3 separate regions of the Homo sapiens genome follow, and regions 1 and 3 are each linked to region 2. Evidence: promoter capture Hi-C in 16 types of primary human blood cells and fetal thymus (Javierre and others, 2016). All regions are on one chromosome and are shown on one strand. Each heading gives the region's core, a stretch centred on a gene start or on the middle of the fragment in contact. The rest is flanking DNA. Distances are from core to core; before and after follow the strand shown. Region 1 overlaps LARP1B (La ribonucleoprotein 1B). Region 2 holds the start of HSPA4L (heat shock protein family A (Hsp70) member 4 like). Region 3 holds the start of LARP1B (La ribonucleoprotein 1B).

The links. The method cuts DNA at HindIII sites, captures the fragments that hold promoters and counts their contacts. A CHiCAGO score of 5 or more calls a contact.
Region 1: a contact is called between a fragment that was not itself captured here and the fragment with the promoter of HSPA4L in region 2, in 1 of 17 cell types (endothelial precursors). The highest score is 5.2, in endothelial precursors.
Region 3: a contact is called between the fragment with the promoter of LARP1B here and the fragment with the promoter of HSPA4L in region 2, in 1 of 17 cell types (megakaryocytes). The highest score is 7.6, in megakaryocytes.

What each region holds. Positions count from the first base shown.
Region 1 is chr4:128,160,782-128,164,612 of GRCh38, forward strand. LARP1B (La ribonucleoprotein 1B) reads left to right here. Exons shown (of 20, transcript NM_018078.4): 12 at 1,413-1,536. Among named protein-coding and RNA genes, the nearest start is that of LARP1B, 100 kb to the left of the region's middle. The HindIII fragment of the contact is 1,816 bases long and covers 867-2,682 here.
Region 2 is chr4:127,780,937-127,784,672 of GRCh38, forward strand. It overlaps HSPA4L (heat shock protein family A (Hsp70) member 4 like), which reads left to right and starts at 1,386. Exons shown (of 19, transcript NM_014278.4): 1 at 1,386-1,721. The coding sequence starts at 1,615. RefSeq lists silencers at 747-916, 1,197-1,266 and enhancers at 1,407-1,556, 1,456-2,448, 2,057-2,136, 3,548-3,736. The HindIII fragment of the contact is 4,318 bases long and covers 1-1,912 here.
Region 3 is chr4:128,059,312-128,062,818 of GRCh38, forward strand. LARP1B (La ribonucleoprotein 1B) reads left to right here and starts at 2,001. Exons shown (of 20, transcript NM_018078.4): 1 at 2,001-2,090. RefSeq lists enhancers at 1,366-2,224, 2,225-3,083 and a silencer at 1,408-2,907. The HindIII fragment of the contact is 16,596 bases long and covers 1-3,507 here.

The DNA.
Region 1 (3,831 bases), core at 525-3,024, 380 kb after region 2:
ATAAATATACATTTTGATGTAATTAAAGGTACTTTAGTGAAAAAAGATCATAATCTAAAAGGCTAACATTGGGATTTAATAAATGGTTTGAGCTGACAAGTGACTTCATCTTTGAAGACAGAAGGAAAAGATTCTTTTGTTATTAAGAGCAAGCTACAACTATTTTGTAATGATATTTAATTTCCTTCCTGTTTTAAATTTGCTTCAACCCGAAAAATTCTTTCTTATGTTTTTTACTTGCTTAAACCCGCTTTGGATGTTGCCCTGTAAAGATTCATGTACCCATTAGTACCATGTGGAGTAGATGTGATATAGGGTTTTATTGGGAAAAACTTAGAAGAAATAGTGGAGTGTAAGCAGTCCCTCAAACTCCTTTTTTATCTCACAGTTTAGGCCAGACATAGAGGGTCTTTATGGTTCACCTGGGTGAACCATAGGGTTCAACCTTTAGGGTTCAACCTTTAAGTTCACCTGTGGCCAAGTGAACTTCCAGTAGAGAATGACCTCTACCCTCTGTAATGCTCCACACATTTGTAGGTCAGGGCCGGAAACACTTAAGTGACTATGCAATAGTAGTTACAAAGGGGAAGCCTCCAGAACCCCAGAGGCAGGGAGGGGTCTATTCTTCCTTTGAGCTAACAACTCAAATATACTGAGTCTCTTTGCTGCAGCTATCCAGGGCCATCCAGATTTATCTTTATCACATGCATCCCATTATTATAAAACAAAGTGAAATCTTCTTGACCCAGTATTAAAGGTCTTCTAGTAGCTTTCTCCAACTTCCTCATCAGTCCTCTTTGCCACTGGTTCTACACAGATTTTCTTAGTCACTTAATTACTTTGTAATAAACACATTGCTTTTTCCAAGCTTCTTATCTTTGCTCTCATTACCTATTTAGAATGTTTCTCCCTTTCTCTAAATTCTCATCCTTCAAGAGGTGCTTTTGTCCCATCTCTCCTGTGATGGCTTCCTGATGATCGTAATTCTTACACCAATATCGCTCTTCACATACTACCTAATATTATTTATTTTTATGTGTTCATTTCTTCCTTTTCATCTAACATATAAATTCCTTAATGGTAGGGAACATGTATTAGATTACTTTGTAACGTCTGTAATACCTGGTAGTCTTGTATGTAAATGCTCAACAAATAATTAATGATTAGTATGTGTGGTCTTATAATGTTTTTTAATTATAAAATCATTATAATATTTTAGGGTGTTATATGCCTCTTAGATTCTGAATGTTGTTATTAAGTATAATGCTAGACTCTTTATTAGAACGTCTTTTTCACTCCATTGTAATTAATCCCTGTTTTAGAAGTTCATTTTTTTGAGGTTGGTATCAATTATTGTCTGTTGGTTACTCTGTTAGCCAGTTTAGTAATTAGATTCCTCCATTCTACTTCAGCAAGAAGTTGAGAACTTTAAGAAGCTAAATCTCATTAGTAAAGAGCAGTTTGAAAACCTAACACCTGAACTTCCTTTTGAGCCAAACCAAGAAGTTCCTGTAGCACCTTCACAGTCCAGGCAAGGTATGTAAATCTGCTTTTGTGTAAGTGTCTGAATAGTATTAAAGCAGTTCTGAATTGTTTTTAAAAATTGCTCCTTTTTTTTCTTTATTTGTGGAAAATCATTAGGTAAATGGTAAAATGCTAGAATTTTAAAACTCAACTTTTATCCTTTTGTGAACTTCTATTATCACACCAGATTATGCTCAAAGCCAGAGGCTTACTTAGAAGTAGGCAGAATTTGTTGGTTCTTTATGTATCTGATGTGATTTTAAGATTGCTGGGAATGTTTCTCTTCCCAAAATAAAATTTTTCACTGACTCACTGATCCTTAGAATGCGCTAGAGTCATTCTTTTGTTTTAAGGGCTTAGCTCTGTGTGAGAGTGTAAATAAATACATTGGGAGATCCATAAATTGAATCTGACATTTCAGACAAGTATAACTGATTTTATTATAGCCTTTTCCTGAAGGTGGTTAAAAAAATGATTTATAAAAAGTCACACATATACAAAGATAGAGTGAATTTTATAATAAAACTCCCATGTACCTGCTATACTTAATCATCTCATACCCAATTTTGTCTCGACTCCAGTAACTCCTATACCTCCCTGTGGATTATTTTTAAACAAATTCTCAATCACATGATTCATATTTTTTTGTCCTTAAAGATTTCTGTATGTGTCTTTAAAAAGATAAGGGCTATATCTTTTAACACATAAATAGCAGGACATTATCATATCTAAAATTAACAGTAATTCCTTAACGTTAGATATCTAGTGTTCAAATTTCCTCATTCATCACTTTTTTTTTCCAGTTTCTTCAAATAGATTGCAATAGATTGATATGTCTTTTTTAGTCTACAGGTTTCTACTATTTTTTGCCTTATAATTTATTGGTCCTTGCAATTTGGTATTGAAGAAACTGGGTTGTTTGTCTTGTAGAATTTTTCACATTCTGAATTTTGCTGATTGCATCCCCATGGTTTCATTTAACCTGTTTTCTAGTCCTGAATTATCTATAACTGTTAGTTCAGCATAGAGACTTGATTAGATTAAGACTCAAATCTCTGTAAGAATATGTCATATGTAGTATTGAATACTATTAGGAGATACATAATGCTCTATTGTCTCTTTTTGTAATGTTAGCAGTCATTGATGATCAGTGAGTGAAGCTTTTATTTTACTAGGGGTTGCAAAATAGTGATGATTCTATTTTTAATCATTACGTCTTACCTTAATAGGTAGAATACTTTTATAAAGAGAACTTTCCCCAGAATATTTATTTATTCTGAGATAGAGTTCTTACAGGAAAGTGAGTCAGTGCTGAATTATTTCCCTTTGTTTACTAGTTTCAAAGTACTAGCTGGTTCCTTAACATTCTTCGCTGGTGACTAATGAAGTTTTTGTTTGTTTGTTTTTAAATGATCATTGTGAACTCATAAATACATGAGATGGGTTTCATTCTATTACAGTTATTATTATTATTATTGATACCTATGCCAGTTATCAGTTTATTGACTTTTAGCTCTAAAGCCACCTTTCATTTTCTTGCTCAGTAATAATGGAGTTGGACTGTTAACTTTAATGTTTCCCACCCCACAGAAGGTTGAGCCCCCACCAAGGTTGAGCTTTGTCAGTACCGGATCTGCTACTCAGTTGGTCCTTGTTTCTAGGCCTTTTGAATAGAAAGAGCTAGGAAATTTTTTAAGGAGAAAAATATATTACGTATTCATGTTGATATTTTCTGTCTAAATTTAAGATTATAGGTTTTAATTTTAATTTCTTTGATTTTGTAGTTGTATTGCTTTTTACTTATATATAAAAAATCTTTCTTCCTAACCACAGTAACATAATTATTTATTTGCTAATCCTATGATATAATAGTTCCAGAATAACAATAACATTAAATAATAATATTATAAATACTGAAAGGTAACTTCTTTTAGAGTTCTTTAAACTGTAAACTTTTAAAAACTTCATACTTTAAAGCTTTCTTTAAAGTTCTTAGTGTGTCCCACTAGGGCTGTTCAGTTAAATTGCTGGATTTTTTGCCTTGTTAAATTTGAATACTTTAAAATTGAGAATGTATATTCCTTTGCACATCATAGAAAGCATACAAGTCACAAATAAGGAGATAAATTTGGCATTGCATGACATTAACAAAGAATTAATATCATAGAAATCTAAAACCTTAAAAATTAATATGAAAAATGGCAAACATGAATAGAAAAAGTAGTAAATGAAACATGAACATCAGTTTCATATTTGGGAAGACCAAATGGCCAATAAATATGAAAAGAGGCTATTTTTACTGAGGTT
Region 2 (3,736 bases), core at 136-2,635:
TACAATCCAGTTGCCTCAGTATTGCCCTTGAAAATGGATTTCACGTTCATTCTAACAGCAGCAGGAACTATAGCCACCCTTGCTGCTGCTGCTGCTGTAGCAACATTATTAATAGTAAAAAATCTAAGTTATTTAAAGAAGTGGACAACTAGGGATAATCAGAATACTAAAGAATCTAGTAAACAAAACAAACAAACAAAAAAACACGCCTGTTTTCAAGATGGATACCAAAATGGAACAGGAAAACACACAAAGAATTGGATGAGAAGGAACAGAGACTAGATGAAGAGGACGGGGAGGAACAGGGAACAGACCAAGGACTGGCAGAGAAGGAACAGGGCACACACGTAAAAGTGAACGAAAAGCAACAAGACAGCCAAATTTCTTAAGTGTAACATAAAACTTGGTTAATTACAGACAGGCAACACATGCCGATCAAACCAAGAGGGAGGGCGCTGGACCACACTGGGCTCTTTTTTGAGGACCACAGGGCAGCGGCTGGAGGCTAAAGCACAGACTTGGCTGGTGTGAGTGGCACACTTAATTAAGGTCACTTTCCTGTAAAACTGGTTTCCAGAGACAAGGGTCAGCGGCGGGGCCAGCATCTTTTAGAAAGGTGTGAGGAAAGGTACGTGGAGGGAAAGTTGTCAGTGTGATCTTATTTCTTGACAGAAGTTTGACTTTTGATATTTCAAATCCTGCTGATGAAAAAAGAAAAAAACCTAACATGTGCTCATCCCGCTTTCGCACAAGAGTCTGTCCCGGGCTCGGCAGCTCCCCCGGGGCTGGACAGGGCGGAGCGGCGGACGTCGGACAATGCGCGCCACCTCACAGAGCCGGGCGCGGCGGGCCTCCAGCCACAAGGGGAGGGCGCCGGGCTGCACATGGGCCCCTCGGGGAGGCGAGGCCTGCGGGCGAGCCCTTCTGAGGGCAGGGGGTGAGGGGGCGGCGCCCGCCAGCCAGGACAGCATCCTGCCGCCGTGACAAGCACGCCTCCGGTTGCCAAAACAACCCAAAAATGTGCCTCAAAACACGTTCGCAAAGCCCCGGGCCGGCCGGTCGCCTGCCTCTCACCTAGCCCGACCGCCCGACGTCCTACTGCCGAGCGAGGGCGAGCAAGCCAATGTGCCTAGCCTCCTTTCCCCGATCCTCCCCGCCCCGCCTTCCCGCTTCTCCCGCCCCCGGATAGCTCAGCAGCCTCCATTTTCCAGATCTTTCTCGAACCCGCAGCTTCTTGGGCAGCCGTTGCCCGAGTGCTGACGGAAGCGGCCGAAGTCCGGGCCCGGAGCTGGCTCGGGCGCGGAGCGGAGGCTCGCGCGCCTCCCGGGCAGCCGAGCGCGCAGGCGCAGGTCCCAGTAACCGCCGGTTGGAGGCGGCCGAACCGCAGTAGGGAAAGACCCAGGCTGCGGGACGCGGTGCAGGCTGCGGCGCTGACGGCCTCTGCTCCTTCCGCGGGTTTCCGACTCCCTGCCCTAGATTTTCTGCTTAGCGACTTGGGGTCCCCTCTCGTTTGCTTCTGGTAGGAGTCGCAATCCCAGCAGCAATAGCCCAGAAGAGGACACGGTTCCCGTACCGAAGGGTTCAGTACCAGCAGCCCGACCATCACGCGGCGGGATGTCTGTGGTTGGCATTGACCTCGGCTTTCTCAACTGCTACATTGCTGTCGCGAGAAGTGGCGGCATCGAGACCATCGCCAATGAGTACAGCGACAGGTGTACCCCGTAAGTGCCTCTGCTGAGCATCACCTCGACCCTAAGAAACGTTTTTCTCTCCCGTCCTTAACGTTTGTCCTGTCTGCTCGCTTCCTCGGATTTTCCCCTAACGTGCGCCGAACCCCGAGATGACAGGTGCAACCCGTCAACCGCAGTCCCTAGAGACCGCCGGGTGGCAGTCGGACTTCCTCGCCCCGCAAAGCTTCTTTTCCTTCAAGGACGAGGGACCGCACTAGTTTGCGCAGCTCTCTTTTCTGTACCTACGCACGTCCCCTGCCTCGTGCCGCTGTCCCCCAACGCCTCTTTTGCTTGCGAGGAAGAGGTTGCTGTGGGACAGCCCCTGGCGTCCGGAATATTGAGAAAGATCTCCGGTTGCCTCTAACGAGGTTTACGTGGGATTATCGGCCCCGCGCCAGCTGCCCTCCTTCCTTTCCCCGTCCCTCTGGGTGACAGCTTTTTCTCAGAAAAGTAAAAAGTCAGCTTCGGCTGCACACGTCAGAGATGAATTGCAGGTTCATCTGGCCCCGAAAGCCTTTTTTTTTTTTTTAAGGGCGGGGAGTGAGGCATGTGGGGTTTTACAAAACCCAGTGCCCTTGAGAACTGCAGGTAATGGAGCCGGTTTACAGGGCCAGGTCAATGGTGCATTGATAGGGAGAGCCTCGGGATGGGAGTCACTGGCCTTGTGCATTGGTAACTACGTCAGTTGCTGGAATGCGGCGGGGTTGGGTCGGACCAAAAGCGTGTTTCTGCAGAGTGAATTGCCGGAGTCGGGGGCAGCTGTCCCGTATAAACATGACTGTGGAGTGATTCTATTATGAACGCTTAATGAAAGGCTTAGGAGGAGCGGCGTTATGTCATGGAAACATGTTTCCACATGTTCCGTTGTTTCTCTGGCCTGGGAAGTTTGTTGGCAAGGAATATAATGAAGTAATTCTGAAATATGAAAAACTAGTTGCTGCTTATAGGCTGCTGTTACTGGTAATTTTATGAGGAAACCAACTGTATGAAACCTATATTACTTTTTATGGAAAGGTAATTTGGCATCTTAATTTGACCGTTCTGAATGGTCCAAAATATAATACCTTAACTATACTAAAACAAGGTCAGTGTCCAATGGTCTTTAAATGCCTCATTTACTATTCTATGGAAAGCTTTAAAATATGGCAAAAAGATGTTGAAGAGTAGCTCACTTGAAGCAGTCTGTGCTTTGATTTCTTTCCAAGAAGATTCTAGAAGGTTTTATACCTTTTTTCGTAGATGTACACGTTTCTTCTATTGAAATTTTAAACGTTTTGGACGTTTATATTTTCAATACATGGGCATAGATAAGGTAATCCTCAATAATGTTTGAACTCTTCTACTTTTTACATCTTTTTCTGGCTTTTATGCACAGTGAGAGGCCGAAACAGTAACTGTGAAGTCGATGAATTCGTCTCTACAAGGTTTTATATTAAGCCACAACAAATACTGGCTTTCGCCAGAAACAGACCGGAAATTCCACTCTCCACCTTCAGCAGAGTAGGGGTTAAAAATGGGAGCAATCTTTGGCTTCATTGACTCTCAACCTATAGAGAAAAAACTGAGAGGTAGGGTGGACATTCTTTTAGTCCTTAAAGCCATATCCTAAAAGATCAGAAACCAGAACAGTAAGAAAGATCGATCTGCATTTCCAGGCTGAGAAATCTCTTTAGCAGTGAGTGAACCTGTGATTCTTTAAAGATCCTGGCCGGCCAGACTTAGTTCTTTAAAAAGTGGGCTTCTAGAGTCTTCTAAAAGTCTCTTTGTTATTGTACTTAGGCATATTCGCTGGTTCTGTGTGGTTGAGAAGTAATGTGATATTTCTGATTTGTGTGCTAGAAAGCCAATAGTAATATCTAGATTTAATGAGCCTAATCTAAACTAGAAAGTTCTTAAAAAGTGAAAGGATATTCTCACTTAGCTTGCATCAGCAACTCTTCTCTCCATGGCTGGGCACTGTCACTTACCTCAGAAGTGTATCTTTTGTTGTTTCTGAACAAAAGTAC
Region 3 (3,507 bases), core at 751-3,250, 280 kb after region 2:
TTTTAAGTTTATTATTAAAAGGACACTTTACAGAGGTGTGAGGCTAGGCGTGGTGGCTCACGCCTGTAATCCCAGCACTTTGAGAGGCCAAGGTGGGGGGATGACTTGAGGCCAGGAGTTCGAGACCAGCCTGGCCAACATGGTGAAACACCGTCTCTACCAAAAATACAAAAATTAGCCGGGTGTGGTGGTGGGCGCCTGTAATCTCAGCTACTCGGGAGGCTGAGGCATGAGAATCGCTTGAACCCGGGAGGCAGAGGTTGCAGTGAGCCGCGATCGCGCCACTGCACTCTAGCTTGGGCGACAGAGAGAGACTACCTCTTAAAAAAAAAAAAATGCCGGGCGCGGTGGCTCATGCCTGTAATCCCAGCACTTTGGGAAGCCGAGGCGGGTGGATCATTTGAGGTCAGGAGTTCAAGACCAGCCTGGCCAACCTGATGAAACCCCGTCTCTACTAAAAATACAAAAATTAGCCGGGTGGTAGTGGCGCGCCTGTAATCCCAGCTACTCAGGAAGCTAAGGCAGGAGCATCTCTTGAGCCTGGGAGGCAGAGGTTGCAGTTAGCCGAGATCACGCCACTGTACTCCAGCCTGGGCAATAGAGTGAGACTCTGTCTCAAACCACCACCACCACCACCATCACCACCACCAATAAAAAATACAAAGCGCCACTAATAACAGAGCTAGTAAAGATGGATGGGAATATAGGTGGAAGTACAATCCCCTTTTAATTGCAACAAGGTTCGCCAGGTTGCTTAGGGTTGGGCAAACTGGAGATCACTGACACGGAAAACAAGAAAACCCTTATTGTTTATAGCTGTTATGTATGAATAGGTTATTAGCCTTAGGAAAATTATTTGTGCCGAATACGGCTTTTGAGTAAGCAAAAAATATTAACGTCAAGTTGAATGTAATTGAAGCGACTTATTGGGCGTGGGGTGGGGGGTGGGGGTTGAAAGCCCAAACATAAGGCGAGCACAGATAATTTATTTAACAAGGCTATGGGGTTGGTGGGGGGCTCGGAAAAAAATCAGCGGCGGAACCTGCTCTCAGCCACCTTGCACCAGGACACAAACACTGACTCAAAAATGAAACGAGTATCATCTCTAAGTGAATGTGAGTGCCAAGTAGAAAGCTCGTATCCGATTTATTATCAAAACGTCTTTGTACCATTTTAACATCCATTCCAGGAAGAAAAAACCTATTGGGAATATGGTTAATTTGTAATTAAGTGCTATTTACCCAAATTAAAGAAACAGGTAACAAAAAATTTTAAAAGCCGGCGAAATACTATTTAATTTACTCAGGAACGCTTTAGAACTCTTTTAGTTGGTGGGTGGGAATGCGGGCGGGGAAGCGCACTAAGCCGAACGCTGGGGCAAAGGTTTCCTAAACAGTTACCGAGAGGTAACTCCCCCTTCATCTGGGACGTGGCTCAAGATTACAGGTGATCGCGGTGCCCCGAGGCGCCAGGAGGCAACTTTCACCTGGGGGAGGCGCCGGGCGCCAGCGGGCCAAGCGGCCGGGCCGCGGAGCCCACTTCACTTGGGAGCTGCCCCAGGCCGGGGGTCGACACCGCGTCCCCTCCCTTAGCCTAGCTGCGACCCAGCTTTAGGGCCTAAGGGCAAATCGAGCGCTCGGTCCTCCCAGCGCCATGTGCGCGGCCCGCCCAGGCCCTTGGCCGCCGTCGCCGCGGGGGCAGGCCGCGAGCCAGCCGCGAGCCACAGAGGCCTGGTGCGCGCTCCGCCCCTGAGCCTGCAGTCGGGGCGGCCTCAGCCAGTGAGCCGGGAGTCGTCCCCTTCGTCCTCCCTCGCACTCGGAGGGCAGCTGGGGCGGGGCAGACCCTCGGGCCGGGCGGCACCCGGGCGGGCGAATCCGTCAGCTCCCGCGGGAGGCCCGGCGAGAGAAGGACCCGGTGAGTAGCCACGTCACGCTCCTCAGGGAGGCCCCGCCCCGTGCTCTCGGGCCGCCCCTCTTCGCCGTCTCCACGCCTCCGCGGGCAGTTACCAGCTTTGGCTGCTCGCGCCTCCCCAACTCGGGTAAAGCTCCTCGGCCTCGGCGTGCTGCGCCTCCGCGGCTGCCCTGCGCCAGGTGAGGGCTCGCGGCTCCCGGCTGCGGCTCCCGGCGCGTGGTGGCGGGCTCGGGGCGTGCGTCGCGGAGAGGACGGGGCCGGCGGGCGGTTGGCGCTCCGTTCGGTGCGGGGAGGGGCGTCACGCCGGGCGCTGCGCGGCCTCGGCGGGCGGCGGCAGCGGCGGCCACGGCCGCCGGGCTCTCGGGTTGTCTGTCCCCAGTTGGAGCCGGCCGGTGTCCCGGCGGAGAGACGGGCAGTCGGGTTCCCTGGCCTCGGGGCCACCCCGGCTGGGGCGGCTGGGGCAGAGGGACGATGTCTACTCGCGCCCCGATGCCCGCCGCCCATTCTCGGGAGGATCCGCCCGCGGTGACTGCTGAGAGGGAGTCGCTGTTGGCCGCGGCGAACCGGCCGGCCGAGCAGCCGCCCCCGCCCGAATGTGAGGGCAAAGAGGCGGCGAGGGAGGAGAGGGCCGCGGCCGCCACTAGCGCTGGGGCGCGGGGAGAGCCGTCGCCGGCGCTGGTGCTGGGACGCAGCGTGCCCCAGGCGGCTGTCCCCGTGAGGCCCCTGGCGCTGCACCTGGCGCACAAGGCGCGTGGGCCCGGGGGCCCTTTCGGCGGGGAGCCGCCACCGCCACCGCCGCCGCCGTCGCCGTTGCCGCCGTTGCTGCGGGATCCGCCGGCCGAGGACGCCCGGGAAGAGGTGGCAGCTGGCCCTGCGGAAAAGCGGCAGCCGCCGCTGCTGCCGCCTAAGGGAAATCCCTGGACCAAAAAGCCTCCCCAGCACCTGTCCCCAGACACGACAGGTCCGCCACCGCCCCCGCTGGAAACCCTGGAGGCAGGTCTGTGGTTGCTCTGCGTTGGGCACTGGCAGGGTGCGGGCAGGGGCGACTTGCGGGACTTGCCGGCGCGTGGCGGCGGTAGCGGGCACCAGGCCCGGGTAACGGCAGGCCTCCCCTCCCTGTCAGTCGGAGGTAATTTGTTCCAAGGTGTCATTCACTCTGCCTATTTACAGACATGGGCATCTGGGAAGGGAGCGGCAGGAAGAGGTGGGACCTCAGGTTCTCCTTGCCTGATGGGGGCACGGAGGTGGTAGCTTGGCGGCGCATCCCTGCTGGCGCGGTTGCGATTGTGTTTTGTCCCCAGTGTTAGTGACTTGGGAAAGTAGCTAACTTTAGATACTGCAGTGCTTCGTATGGGAAAGTTTTGGTAGACTTTTTTTTTTTTTTTTTTACATAAAAGGATTGAAGCAAGTCAGAGCAAGGGGATTTATTCGTAAGTGGAAGCGCGATTGTAGTCTTTTGTGAAATAAGATGAAAAAAGGTTTTCAAAACACTGCTGAGCAGTCATATTAAAAATGAGACTTTAAATGTGGTTTTTAAAGTGCTTTATGGGGGGAGGGGGGAGGGATAGCATTAGGAGATATACCTAATGTTAAATG